3 separate regions of the Homo sapiens genome follow, and regions 2 and 3 are each linked to region 1. Evidence: promoter capture Hi-C in 16 types of primary human blood cells and fetal thymus (Javierre and others, 2016). All regions are on one chromosome and are shown on one strand. Each heading gives the region's core, a stretch centred on a gene start or on the middle of the fragment in contact. The rest is flanking DNA. Distances are from core to core; before and after follow the strand shown. Region 1 holds the start of UBA52 (ubiquitin A-52 residue ribosomal protein fusion product 1). Region 2 holds the start of COPE (coat protein complex I subunit epsilon). Region 3 overlaps UPF1 (UPF1 RNA helicase and ATPase).

Region 1 (3,829 bases), core at 436-2,935:
AAACGTTCTTCAGATCACATGGAGAAGCAAGGGCAAAACAGATCTAAAGTCAGCACAACCCACACAGGACTGAGACTCCCCTGGGCAGAGAGGGACTCCCAGTTCACAGCCAGAGCCCCCACACCCAGCCCTACTCACCCTCCTTGTCTTGAATTTTGGCTTTGACATTCTCAATGGTGTCACTGGGCTCGACCTCAAGGGTGATGGTTTTGCCAGTGAGGGTCTTCACAAAGATCTGCATGTTTGCGTCTGCAGGAGGAAGGGAGGCAGGATAGACTGGTGAGCAATGCATGCCTGAGTAGCACAAGCTCAGGTGCCTACACCACAGTTGCTATCCCTTTGCCTGCACCAAGTCCAACTGGTCCTGCCCCAGTACCTGTCTTCCTTTCACTCCTCCAAGCCTGGCCCTGCTAGGCTTCTCACACACCCTGGCCTGTAGTCTAAACATGTCCTGGAACTAAAGACCACATGTCCTCCACCCTCCTGACCGCACGGGTGCTCTTCAGGAACACAGACTGTGGTTATTCTCCTTAGGTTTAGCGGCGGAAGGACTCGTCAGTATCTCCTGATGGAATAAGTACCCTTTGGCATCATCTTGCTAGATCCATCTTCCCTGAAGGCGGTCCCACCCTCTTCCACGGCAGCCAGGTCCTGATCTGCACAGGCTGCTCCTGCTGCCAGCCTGGATGGGAAGCCATCCCCTACAACACACATGCCTTCCTGTCGCAGCCTCTCTCCTCTCTAACTCCAAGCTGGAGCACCCAACACTCTTAGCTTCCTTCTCAATTACACCAAAACTCTCCAGACCCCACTTCTTGCCTTGACCCCAAACCACGAACATCACTTAGTATCTACCAACCACCTGCCAAGCATTGTTCACATATAAAAGTTGACTTAAAAAGACAAAGAATCGACCGGGCGCAGGGGCTCATGCCTGTAATCCCAGCACTTTGGAAGGCCGAGGCAGACGGATCATTTGAGGTCAAGAGTTCAAGATGAGCCTGGCTAACATGGTGAAACTCCGTCTCTACTAAAACTACAAAAATCAACTGGGCGTGGTGGCAGGCGCCTATAATCCCAGCTACTCGGGAGGCTGAGGCAGAAGAATCGCTCGAGCCCGGGAGGTGGAGATTGCAGTGAGCCGAGACCGCACCACTGAACTCCAGCTTAGGCGACAGAGCAAGACTCCATCTGAAAAAAATACAAATAGTCTAAAGAAAAGTCTAAAAAGCAGACACTACCACCAGCTCCTCCTTACAGACGTAGTAATGGAGCCAGGTATGAAGACTCAGCTCGAGAAATTTAGTATTTCCAAAGCGACTGACGCAGTGACTGGCAGAGTTAACGCTACACGCTCAATACCCCTCTCTCATTAACTCGGATCTGCCCCGAGGACCTCTTCCCGCCCGAGGCCTCGTGGGGTCACGCTGGCAGGCAGAGCAGGCAGGCTCCTCTCCAAAACGGCGCTCGCCTCCTGGGCCCCGGTCTGGGCTCCGAGCCGTGGCCTCGCGAGCCCTGCCCAGCCACCCTGCCGAGACTGGCCCGCATGAGCCAGCTCAGGGCCGCCTCTTCTGCCGCCCAGGCCCCTGCAGCCTCCCGCAGCCCCCAACCCGCTCTCGGCCCGGCGCGAACCCGCACGACCGCCGCCACCAACCAGCTCGGCCGCCTCGCTGAAGAAAAAGAAGATAGCGGAACCGGAAACCACCTAATCGCCGCCGAAAGCGCTTGCGCACGGAGCACGCCGGACGCCTGCGTCACAATTCGCGCCGCGCCTTGGGCCCCGCCCTGCCGCCATCTTGGATGCTGGCGAACGAAGCCGCAGCGCACGTGGGTGAAGGTCGCCCACCCGCTTCCGGTTGTGGGCCCCGCCCGCCGAGTCACTTGAGACGATTGCACCTCTCCCCGTGTTTGCGTCCGCTGCCTCTAGGCCACTGACAACCGCTGGCGGTTGGCGGGCCCTCAGCGAATAGCTGAACGGAGTAGAGGAGAATGTTTTCTAATAAAGCAAAGGTATTAAGCAGAGGACTGCGGGTCCAGGACGCAGGAGTCGGGGCTGGGAAAGCACCTAACACCTGGAATCGGTTATTATAAAGCTCTCGGCCGCTGTGCCTGAATGGATTTCAGGACAGCAGCAGGGAGAGCAGACGGTACTACCGCATTCGCCCAGAAAGGTGGTGGTGCCTGACAAAAGGTGTCAAGCGGGACTCAGGATTTTTTTTTTTTTTTTTTTTGAGACGGAGTTTCGCTCTCGTTGCCCAGGCTGTAGTGCAATGGCGCGATCTCGGCTCACCGCAACCTCCGCCTCCTGGGTTCAAGCAATTCTCCTGCCTCAGCCTCCCGAGTAGCTGCGATTACAAGTGTGCGACACCATGCCTGGCCACTTTTGTATTTTTAGTAGAGACGGGGTTTCTCCATGTTGGTCAGGCTGGTCTCAAACTCGCGACCTCAGGTGATCCGCCCGCCTTGGCCTCCCAAAGTGCTGGGATTACAGACGTGAGCCACTGCAGTGTCTCTTTTCAGTGTAGGATCCAGATTTGTGGGTGGTTAAAAAGTGCCAGGGCGGGACCTGGGTCCGGTGACTCACGCCTGCACTTTGGGAGGCCGAGATGTGCGGATCACCTGAGGTCGGGAGTTCGAGACGAGCCTGACCAACATGGAGAAACCGCATCTCTACTAAAAATACAAAATTAGCTGGGCGTGGTGGCGCATGCCTGTAATCCCAGCTACTCAGGAGGCTGAGGCAGGAGAATCGCTTGAACCCGGGAGGCAGAGGTTGCAATTAGCCGAGAGAGTGCCATTGCACTACAGCCTGGGCAACAAGAGCAAAACTCCGTCTCAAAAAAGAAAAAAAAAATTACAAAAATTTTTCAGGTGTGGTGGCGGGTGCCTGTAATCCCAGCTACTCAGGAGGCTGAGGCAGGAGAATCGCTTGAATCCGGGAGGTGGAGGTTGCAGTGAGCTGAGTTCACGCCACTGCACCCAGCCTGGGTGACAGAGTGAGACTCCATCTCAAAAAAAAAAAAAAAAAAAAAAAGTGCCACGGCGGGTGCAGTGGTTCACACTTGTAATCCCAGCACTTTGGAAGGTCAAAGAGGGAGGATTACTTGAGGTCAGGAATTCACGACCAGCCTGGAAGACATAGTGAGACCCTGTCTCTACAAAAAAAAGTTTTATTTTGAACTATCCAGGTGTGGTGGTGCGCACCTGCAGTCCCAGCTACTTCGGAGGCAGGAGGATTGCCTGAACCCATAGGTTTGAGATTGCAGTGACCCATGATTCAGCCACTGCACTCCAGCCTGGGCAACAGAGAGGTGCTGTCTCAAAAACAAAACAAAAAAAAAAAGTGCTGAGTACAGAGAAGATGGGGAGCAATGAGAAGTTACCTATAGGCTTAACAGGGGTACCTGTTTATTTCCTTGAACATTTGCAGGCACTACTATACCAGGCAAAAGCAGACACTCTCACGTCTGGGAAGATGCCTTTAAGAACCTAATTTCCTTTTCTTTTTTGAGACAACAGTTTTGGTCTTTTTGCCCAGGCTAGAGTGCAGTGGTGCGATCTTGGCTCACTGCAACCTCTGCCTCCTGGATTCAAGCAATTCTGCCTCAGCCTCCCAAGTAGCTGGGATTACAGGTGTACACCACCACACCCAGCTAATTTTTATATTTTTGGTAGAGATGGGGTTTCACCATGTTGGCCAGGCTGGTCTCGAACTCCTGACCTCAGGTGATCCACCCACCTCGGCCTCCCAAAGTGCTGGGATTACAGGCATGAGCCACCAAGCCCGGTCATAACAACATAATTTCTAAGTACTCAGAAGATGAGGTAA
Region 2 (3,829 bases), core at 979-3,478, 350 kb before region 1:
GCCCCCCATTCCCCTCTCCATCCCCAGGGTTCCTCCCTGAGCCCCCAGGCTCCTGACTTGCCCAGTCCTGTTCACAAAGGCTCTGATGCTGAGCCTTGGAGGCCATTGTGGCCCCTGCCCCCTCGCCAGGCTCAGCCTGGAACATCCCTCCTTCACCAGCCCGACCCAAGCTGACCTCAGCATCTCTTCCTATCCCAAACCTGTGCCTTCCCCCAGTTCGCCTTTCAGCAATGGCCTCACCACCAGCCAGTTGCCCCAGCCAGAGGGTCTCAAGCATCAGCCTCCTTTCTGCCCCCAACCAACTCTGTCCTGGCCTCTCCCTGGCTCATGACCTTTCCTGCTCACACACCCCCAGAATCAATTCTAACCCTCCGCCTGGCATTCAAGGCCTTTCTCAAACTGGCTCCAATATGCCCAGGTCCCAGTACCCTTTCTGCTGCCTGCCTCTTTCTTTCTTTCTTTTTTTTTTTTTTGAGACAGAGTTTTGCTCTTGTTGCCCAGGCTGGAGTGCAATGGCACGATCTTGGCTCACCGCAACCTCCGCCTCCTGGGTTCAAGCGATTCTCCTGCCTCGGCCTCCCGAGTAGCTGGGATTACGGCATGCGCTACCATGCCCAGCTAATTTTTTGTATTTTTAGTAGAGACGGGGTTTCTCCATGTTGGTCAGGCTGGTCTCAAACTCCTGGCCTCAAGTGATCCGCTCACCTGGAGCTCCCAAAGTGCTGGGATTACAGGTGTGAGCCACTGCACCGGGGCCATCTTGTTTAATTCTGCAGGACCCCTAAGAAGCGGGTAGCAAGATTTTCATGCTCATCTCACACGTGGGAAAAGGGCGCTCAGAGAGGGAAAGGTGCTTGCCCAAGAGAGCACAGCTGGTTAACCCATACCCAGGAGGCCTGCTGGGGGCTTACCTGGTGGGTGTCAGGACGAGGCAGAAGATGCCATAGGGATCCTCAGACAGCTTCTGCAAGATGGGAAGGACAAACGCTGCTGTCTTCCCACTGCCTGTCTTAGCACAGCCCAAGCAGTCTCGACCTGGGTTGGGGACAAAGCAGCATCAACACCCTCCATGTGTGGACAGCTGGGTTTCAGAGACCTTGCCCAGGACACACTGCCAGTGAGTGGCAGGCTGGACTGGAACCCATATCCATTTGACCCGAGATGCCCACAGCTTCCTACCACCTCGTTCTAACTCCGTCCAGGAGCACGTGAATTTGGGGAATCCAGAATTCCCTTCCCTCATATGCATCTTGTGCTCCCTGTTGACCCCTTCATTTGTTTATTTAATCCCTGACTTATCACATCTTAGGCTTCCTGTGGGCCTCTCTTTAATGGCGAAACTGGGTTGGGCTAGAGGAGCAGAGAGAAGACCTTCTCCTAGAGGAGCAATCACAGGACCAAGGAGTCCTGGATCTACCAGCAATTTTGACAGCCTCAACTTCTATTTGTAAAATAAAGATAGCAGTACCAGGTCTGCAGGATTTTGCGATACTATCGGACTAGTCATCCATCAAACCCTCCCTGTGCTGAGACTATGAAAATTTCAGAGATTACATCACTTGCGTACGAACACAAAGCGAGTCAGTCATGCAACCTAAATGCCAACACTGTCCAGTCGTCCTCCGGAACCCCGGATCTCCTGTAACGCCCGAGGTTGCCCCTCGCCTCGTGGGACCGGAATAAGCAAAGGTTGCGAGAAGGGAAAGGAGTCGAGAGGAGCGGAGAGGCCTCTTGGGGAAGGCCCTGGGCCATACTCACCCTCCAGGATGGCGGGGATGCAGCCGAGCTGCACGGGCGTGGGCTGCTTCAAACCCAGCTGCCGACATTGTTCCACGAGCCACGATGACAGCCCGAGCTCCGCGAAGCCTGCCATCCTTGTGGCCGCTTGTAGGGGCCCCTTGTAGGGGCCCGTGTGATCCGCGCTTCCGGCGCGCGCCGACGACGTCACGAGAAAAATCTTCCTGTTTATTGGATCTGCCTCCTGCGTGGTCCCACCCTCTCCAGCTCCCTCAGCCTATTCCCAGCCTCGACCGCATCCTTATCATGTTTCCCCGGATCCCATTGGCTTGCAGAAACACACTACAATTCCCGAGATGCTCTCCGTGACGCACTTACGCCTTCCGCCCCCTTGCATATTATTGTGGAGCTTCCCATTGGCTTACTTCGCCGCCGCTCGGAAAAAGTAAACTACATTTCCTAGCGTGCCCGTGTCTTGCTTCCGGCTGACGTGTCTTTCAGGAAGAGGAGCTGGTGAGAAGACAGCGAAATGGCGCCTCCGGCCCCCGGCCCGGCCTCCGGCGGCTCCGGGGAGGTAGACGAGCTGTTCGACGTAAAGAACGCCTTCTACATCGGCAGCTACCAGCAGTGCATAAACGAGGCGCAGCGGGTGAAGGTGCGGCCGCGCAGGGGCGCGGGGACGCTGGGGGCGGAGGCGGAGGACGCTTTCTGGTGGCCGCGAGCCGCGTTCTGCGTCTAAAAACTTTCTCTTTTCTTCTCGCGTTTTTTGGGCCACCTCTTCCACAGTTCAGTGAGGAGTAGTCACTGTCCCGTGACAGAACCCAGAGCAGTAACAGTTTACGGTACTGCTCACTCGTACAGCGTTCTCTCTGCGCCCTTGAAAGTGTTTTGAGTAAGGGAGGTGTTTATGCCACTGTAGTGACAATAAGCCTATTTTGTTCAGCCATACCTTCAGTTCCCGTGAGATGGAGACTGTTGCTTATCCTCATTTTACGGATGAGAACCCTAAAGTTCAGAGAAGGACGTTTCCCTGCCCAACCAGCCTGGTTATTTCTCCCAGAGCTTACCCATTCATTCATTCATTCTTCATTGAGCACTTTTTTGGACGGGCACTGTATTCCGCTGGACTCAGAATGATAAACACAGTTTCCCAGCGCAGTGGCTCAAACGCCTGTAATTCTGGCGCTTTGGGAGGCCGAGGCGGGCAGATCGCATGCGCCCAGGAGTTCGAGACCAGCTTGGGCAACGTGGAGAAACCATGAGTCTACCAAAAATTAGCCGGGCGTGGTGGCGGGCACTTGTAATCTCAGCTACCGGGAGGCTGAGACAGGAGAATCGCTTCAACCCGGAGGCCGAGGTTGCAGTGAACCGAGATCGCGCCACTGCACTCCAGCCTGGGTGACAAAGTTGTAAGAATTAAAGAGGAAAGAAACACGAAAGGTGGCTTGCCAGTCAAGACAGGTTTATTTTAGAGAAAACAAACCTGAGAGGCGCCTTCTGGCGGAGTTGGGTCAGAGTAACACTCTTTTACAGACTAAGAGTTTTTAAGGATTCAGGGTCGGAGAGTTTATCAGAGGCTTGAACTGCTTCTGTGTCTCTTCGTTGTGCTTATCTGGGAGGGAGAGTTGTGTGTCTGTTCCCATACATCTTTCTTTTTTCTTTTCTTTTCTTTTCTTTTTTTTTTTTTTTTGAGATGGAGACTCGCGCTGTTGCCAGGCTGGAGTGCAGTGGCGTGATCTCGGCTCACTGCAACCTCCGCCCCCAGGTTCAAGCAATTCTCCTTTCTCAGCCTCTCGAGTAGCTGGGATTACAGGCGCGCGCCACCATGGCCCGGCTAATTTTTGTATTTTTAGTAGAGACGGGGTTTCACCATGTTGGCCAGGATGGTCTCCATCTCTTGACCTTGTGATCTGCCCGCCTTGGCCTACCAAAGTGTTGGGATTACAGGTGTGAGCCACCGTGCCCAGCCTCCCATACATCTTTCTGCAGCTGCAGGCATACCCCCCTACTCTGCTTTTAGCTTGCCTATTTTAGTGCACCTGAAGGGAAAGGAATGTGCTTATTAAGGCCCACTGTTTTACTGGGGCCCGTT
Region 3 (3,829 bases), core at 876-3,375, 290 kb before region 1:
TCCTTACCCCCCAGAAGCAGCAATCACCCCATCAGCAAAGTTGCCGGCAGGCAGAGCTCCCAATTTGGGCTTTCGGTGTGCAGCGCTCCGTGTCTAACCAGCACAGGGACTGTCGGTACCTCCTGGGGACGGGGACAGGGACAGGCCCTCTTGTCCTTCCACCAAATCTTCCAAAGGCCCCCGGGAAAAAGCCGTCAATCCGGGAACAGCCACCTTCTCGCCTCCTGGCCACAGGGCCAGTCCTGGCCAAGGCCCCTCGCAATGGGGCCAAAAGCACCTTCCTCACCGGTGCGGGGCCCTGCGCCGAGTCTAGGCGGGAAGCAGCTTGGCTTCTGAGTCCAGCGGAGAACGAGCAGCTTCCAGGCTCGGCGGGCGGCTACCCCAGCAGCCTGATGCCCCGCAGAAAGAAGCCACTGGAAGCTAAAACCAACAACAAAACTCCTCCGGCCGCGGCACAGGTGTTGCTCCTCTTCTCCAGTAGCGCTGGCTTGTTTAAACTGTTTCTGGAAGCTTCTCAAATCTCCCAGGTCCACCGCTAAGATTTTACAGACAAACTTAGGAAAGTATTCTTCAGTACTCCTTTAAAAGAATCTTGAAAAAAACAAAGAGAAAAACCCAAAACACCCTTATTTTCTTTAAATGAAGGCCCTCGGAGAACACAGGCAGCGCGACCTCGGCGCGTCCGGTAGGCGTGGACAGACGCGCCCTCCCGGGGCTCTGCCCCGCACGCTGCTGTCTTTGCAAGGAGCCTGCTCGGGCACAGAAATGCGAAGTTTTTTTTCCTGCTAAGACGTAGTCCCCTTTCAATCAAAGAGAAAAAGAAATAAAAGAACAGAGGAAAGGGCTACTCTGAGATGAGGGTCTTCCTCCCTCCGCCCTGGCCGCAGCCCCGATGGGACGGAGCGGGGCCTCCTGGTGGCCGCGGCTCCCGCGGGCCGGCCCCTCCTCCGCTCCCTCTGCTCCTCGCCGCCGCGGGCCAGCAGGGGGCGCTCGGCCTCGGCTCCTCTCCCTCGTGCGCTCTCCCTTCCTGTTGCTCACACAGTGGTGCTTCAGTTTTAGCAGTGGAAAACAGGTATCCGTTTATTTTTATTTTTTATTACCCAGAATAAGATGCTGATGGACTAAGCCACGTTGCTTAGCTCTTCCGCCGCCACCTGTCAGGAGGGAGAAGGGCAGGAGGCGGTGAGAGGCTGCGACCTGAGCCCCACAGGTACCCAGCACACAGGACAGTGAGGGAGAGCCCGAGCTGCCCTCCCCGACTCTGATGAGGAAACTGAGGTCCCGCGGTGGTCCCCGGAGCAGACAGGATGGGGTAGGGTGGGGTGAGGAGCCACCCTGACTAGCAGTGAAGGGCACAGGCCAAGCTGGCCCTGAGGGCCTATGACCCCCACCAGGCACAGCACACATTTCCAGATACCACCCCTCCAGTGCAGCTCCCTGGGGAGAGCCCCCTCCCATCCTTCTCCTTGAGGCTGGGGTGGGGCCAGGCCTGCTCCAGGGGGGCTTGCCTTTTAATACTGGGACAGCCCCGTCACCCCGCCATGCTGGTAAGCCCGCTCTCCCTGGTACGTGGAGTCCTGTGAGAGCGCCACGTCGATTTGTGATTTAAACTCGTCACCAAGGTAACTGTCCTGAAAGACAAGGTCAGGAGGTAAGCAAGCCACAGGCCAAGGGTGCTCACATCCACCCAGCCCTCAGCAGCCCCAGAGAAAAGAATGGAAAACCCGTCCCCAAACTAAGACCCAGGAGACCCACTCTGATGACCCCAGCCCAGGGACAGGTAATTCAGACAGTGGACATGGGCCAGGCCAGCTCTCTGGGGCTCTTCAGAGGGAATGTTTCAGGTGCATAGCCCCACCCTCACTCAGGTAAGTCCCGTCCCAGGGGCGGGCTCACCTGGGACAGCTCCGGCTGGGAGAGGCCGGGCTGGCTCATCTGGGAAGGCTGGCTCATGGAGATGTAGCCCTGCGTCAGGGCGCCCTGAGAGAAGGGCTGTGACGCCACATCCTGGCTGGCTTGGCTGTTGGGGAGGTTAGTCTGGCTGGGTCCAGGAAGCCCAAAGCGGTTCTTCTGGCGTCCCCCACGACCAGTCTTGCCTTTCGGGGTGCCTCGCCCTGAAAGACAGCAGTCCAGGGTGATCCGAAGGAGGCCAGGGCCTCGCAGACAAGCACACCCTCAAGAGCTCTCAGGAGGGCCACACCCAGCCGCAGCCACAGATGCTCACCTGCAGCAGGCCCGTTGGCTTGTCCAAAATAGCCAGGCGGTGGCATGGGTGGCATGACCAGGTTGAAGGGGATGGGAATGTTCATGGCAGCCACGTGGCTAGGGCCGGCACTGATCATGCCAATCTGGTCATGGGTCTGGAAGTACATGCTGGAAGGCCGGCCTGCAAATCACAGTGGAACACGGCAGGTGTCACCTGCCTCGGTCAAACCCCAGCGATACCCCACCCACCCCACCAGCCAGTCAGCCGGAGCTGCACATCTGTCCTGGCTCTGCCCAGGCTGAAGATGCGGATTCGCAGGACTCCATGTTAACTACAGCAGCCTGCCTGGGGCTGGGTGCTTGGGCAGGCACCTTCCCCGAGGAGAGTCTGCTGGGAATCATTGGCCTACACAGATCTTAAAAACTGAAAATTGGGGCCGGGCGTGTTGGCTCAAGCCTATAATCCCAGCACTCTGGGAAGCCGAGGTGGACCACCTGAGATCAGGAGTTTGAGACCAGCCAGGCCAACATGGCGAAACCTCGTTTCTACTAAAAACACAAAAACTAGCCGGGCATGGTGGTGGGTGCTTGTAATCCCAGCTACTCGGGAGGCCAAGGCAGGAGAATCGCTTGAACCCAGAGGGGGAGGTTGCAGTGAGCCAAGATCACACCACTGTACTCCAGCTTGGGCAACAGAGCGAGACTCGGTCTCCAAAAAAAAAAAAAAAAAAAAAAACACCTGCAAATTGGCCAGGTGCAGTGACTCACGCCTGTAATCCCAGCACTTTGGGAGGCTGAGCAGAAGGACTGCTTGAGGCAGGAGTTTGAGACCAGCCTGGACAACATAGGGAGACCCTGTCTCTAAACAAAAAAAAGAAAATAAATGAAAATCACCCTGCATTTACCAAAGGAAAAAAAAAATCCTTTTTATGAAAATGTTCTATTTGTACTACATGCAGTCCCTGCCCTACCAAAAGGCAAGAAAAAGCTAACTAGCTTGATCACCAGGAAACACAAATGAATAAACTCTGGTTAAAGACAAACACCCCAGGAGTGTTCCGGGGCTAGAGATGCCCTAGGGGCGGGGAGGCCAAGGGAGCCAGGCACCGCCCTTGAGGGGAAGGAAAGATGGGGGCACCTAAAGCTGCAGCCATGGGAACGGCCAGCATCCCGGTGTGAGGACAAGGGGTCGGCCAGGTCCCCTGCTGAGCGACTCACCCTGGCTGCTCCGATCATAGACGGAGCCTGGGATGATGGCCTCCCGGGCATCATACATGGCTGTGGTCATGAAGCGGGCTCCCTGCGAAGGTTTAGATAGGTGAGGAATTTGTCATCTCAACAGAAGGAACAACTTCCCACGGGCCCGGTGGCCTGGGAGGTGGCAGGTATGCAGCTGTGAGGTGTTGACACTGTGCCAGGGGCTCTCCCTGGAGACAGGAGGGAGCTGCTGTCTCATGGCCTCTGGGTCTCGCCTGCCCTCCTCGGCAGACCTGGGCTCTGATGCTGACCCTTGGGCCTCAGCTCAGGAAGCTTCACACCCCCTCACTACCAGATCACCCCGGGCTTGCAAAGCTTCCAACTGCCCGTGTCCAAGGTCCCAGGCTGCTGCATGCAGCACAGCAGC

Evidence for each region. The method cuts DNA at HindIII sites, captures the fragments that hold promoters and counts their contacts. A CHiCAGO score of 5 or more calls a contact.
Region 2: a contact is called between the fragment with the promoter of COPE here and the fragment with the promoter of UBA52 in region 1, in 1 of 17 cell types (neutrophils). The highest score is 5.3, in neutrophils.
Region 3: a contact is called between a fragment that was not itself captured here and the fragment with the promoter of UBA52 in region 1, in 1 of 17 cell types (M0 macrophages). The highest score is 6.3, in M0 macrophages.

Annotation. Positions count from the first base shown.
Region 1 is chr19:18,569,713-18,573,541 of GRCh38, reverse strand. It overlaps UBA52 (ubiquitin A-52 residue ribosomal protein fusion product 1), which reads right to left and starts at 1,685. Exons shown (of 5, transcript NM_001033930.3): 1 at 1,633-1,685; 2 at 139-249. The coding sequence starts at 241. RefSeq lists enhancers at 320-996, 1,635-1,974, 2,185-2,304, 1,675-2,351. The HindIII fragment of the contact is 13,368 bases long and covers 1-3,829 here.
Region 2 is chr19:18,917,786-18,921,614 of GRCh38, reverse strand. COPE (coat protein complex I subunit epsilon) reads left to right here and starts at 2,228. Exons shown (of 10, transcript NM_007263.4): 1 at 2,228-2,392. The coding sequence starts at 2,267. It overlaps DDX49 (DEAD-box helicase 49), which reads right to left and starts at 1,900. Exons shown (of 13, transcript NM_019070.5): 1 at 1,759-1,900; 2 at 912-1,035. The coding sequence starts at 1,873. RefSeq lists enhancers at 1,626-2,225, 3,128-3,829 and a silencer at 2,306-2,495. The HindIII fragment of the contact is 20,861 bases long and covers 1-3,829 here.
Region 3 is chr19:18,863,846-18,867,674 of GRCh38, reverse strand. UPF1 (UPF1 RNA helicase and ATPase) reads right to left here. Exons shown (of 24, transcript NM_002911.4): 20 at 3,424-3,505; 21 at 2,225-2,386; 22 at 1,897-2,114; 23 at 1,509-1,631; 24 at 1-1,154. The coding sequence ends at 1,512. Among named protein-coding and RNA genes, the nearest start is that of CERS1, 30 kb to the left of the region's middle. RefSeq lists a silencer at 860-1,059. The HindIII fragment of the contact is 3,225 bases long and covers 513-3,737 here.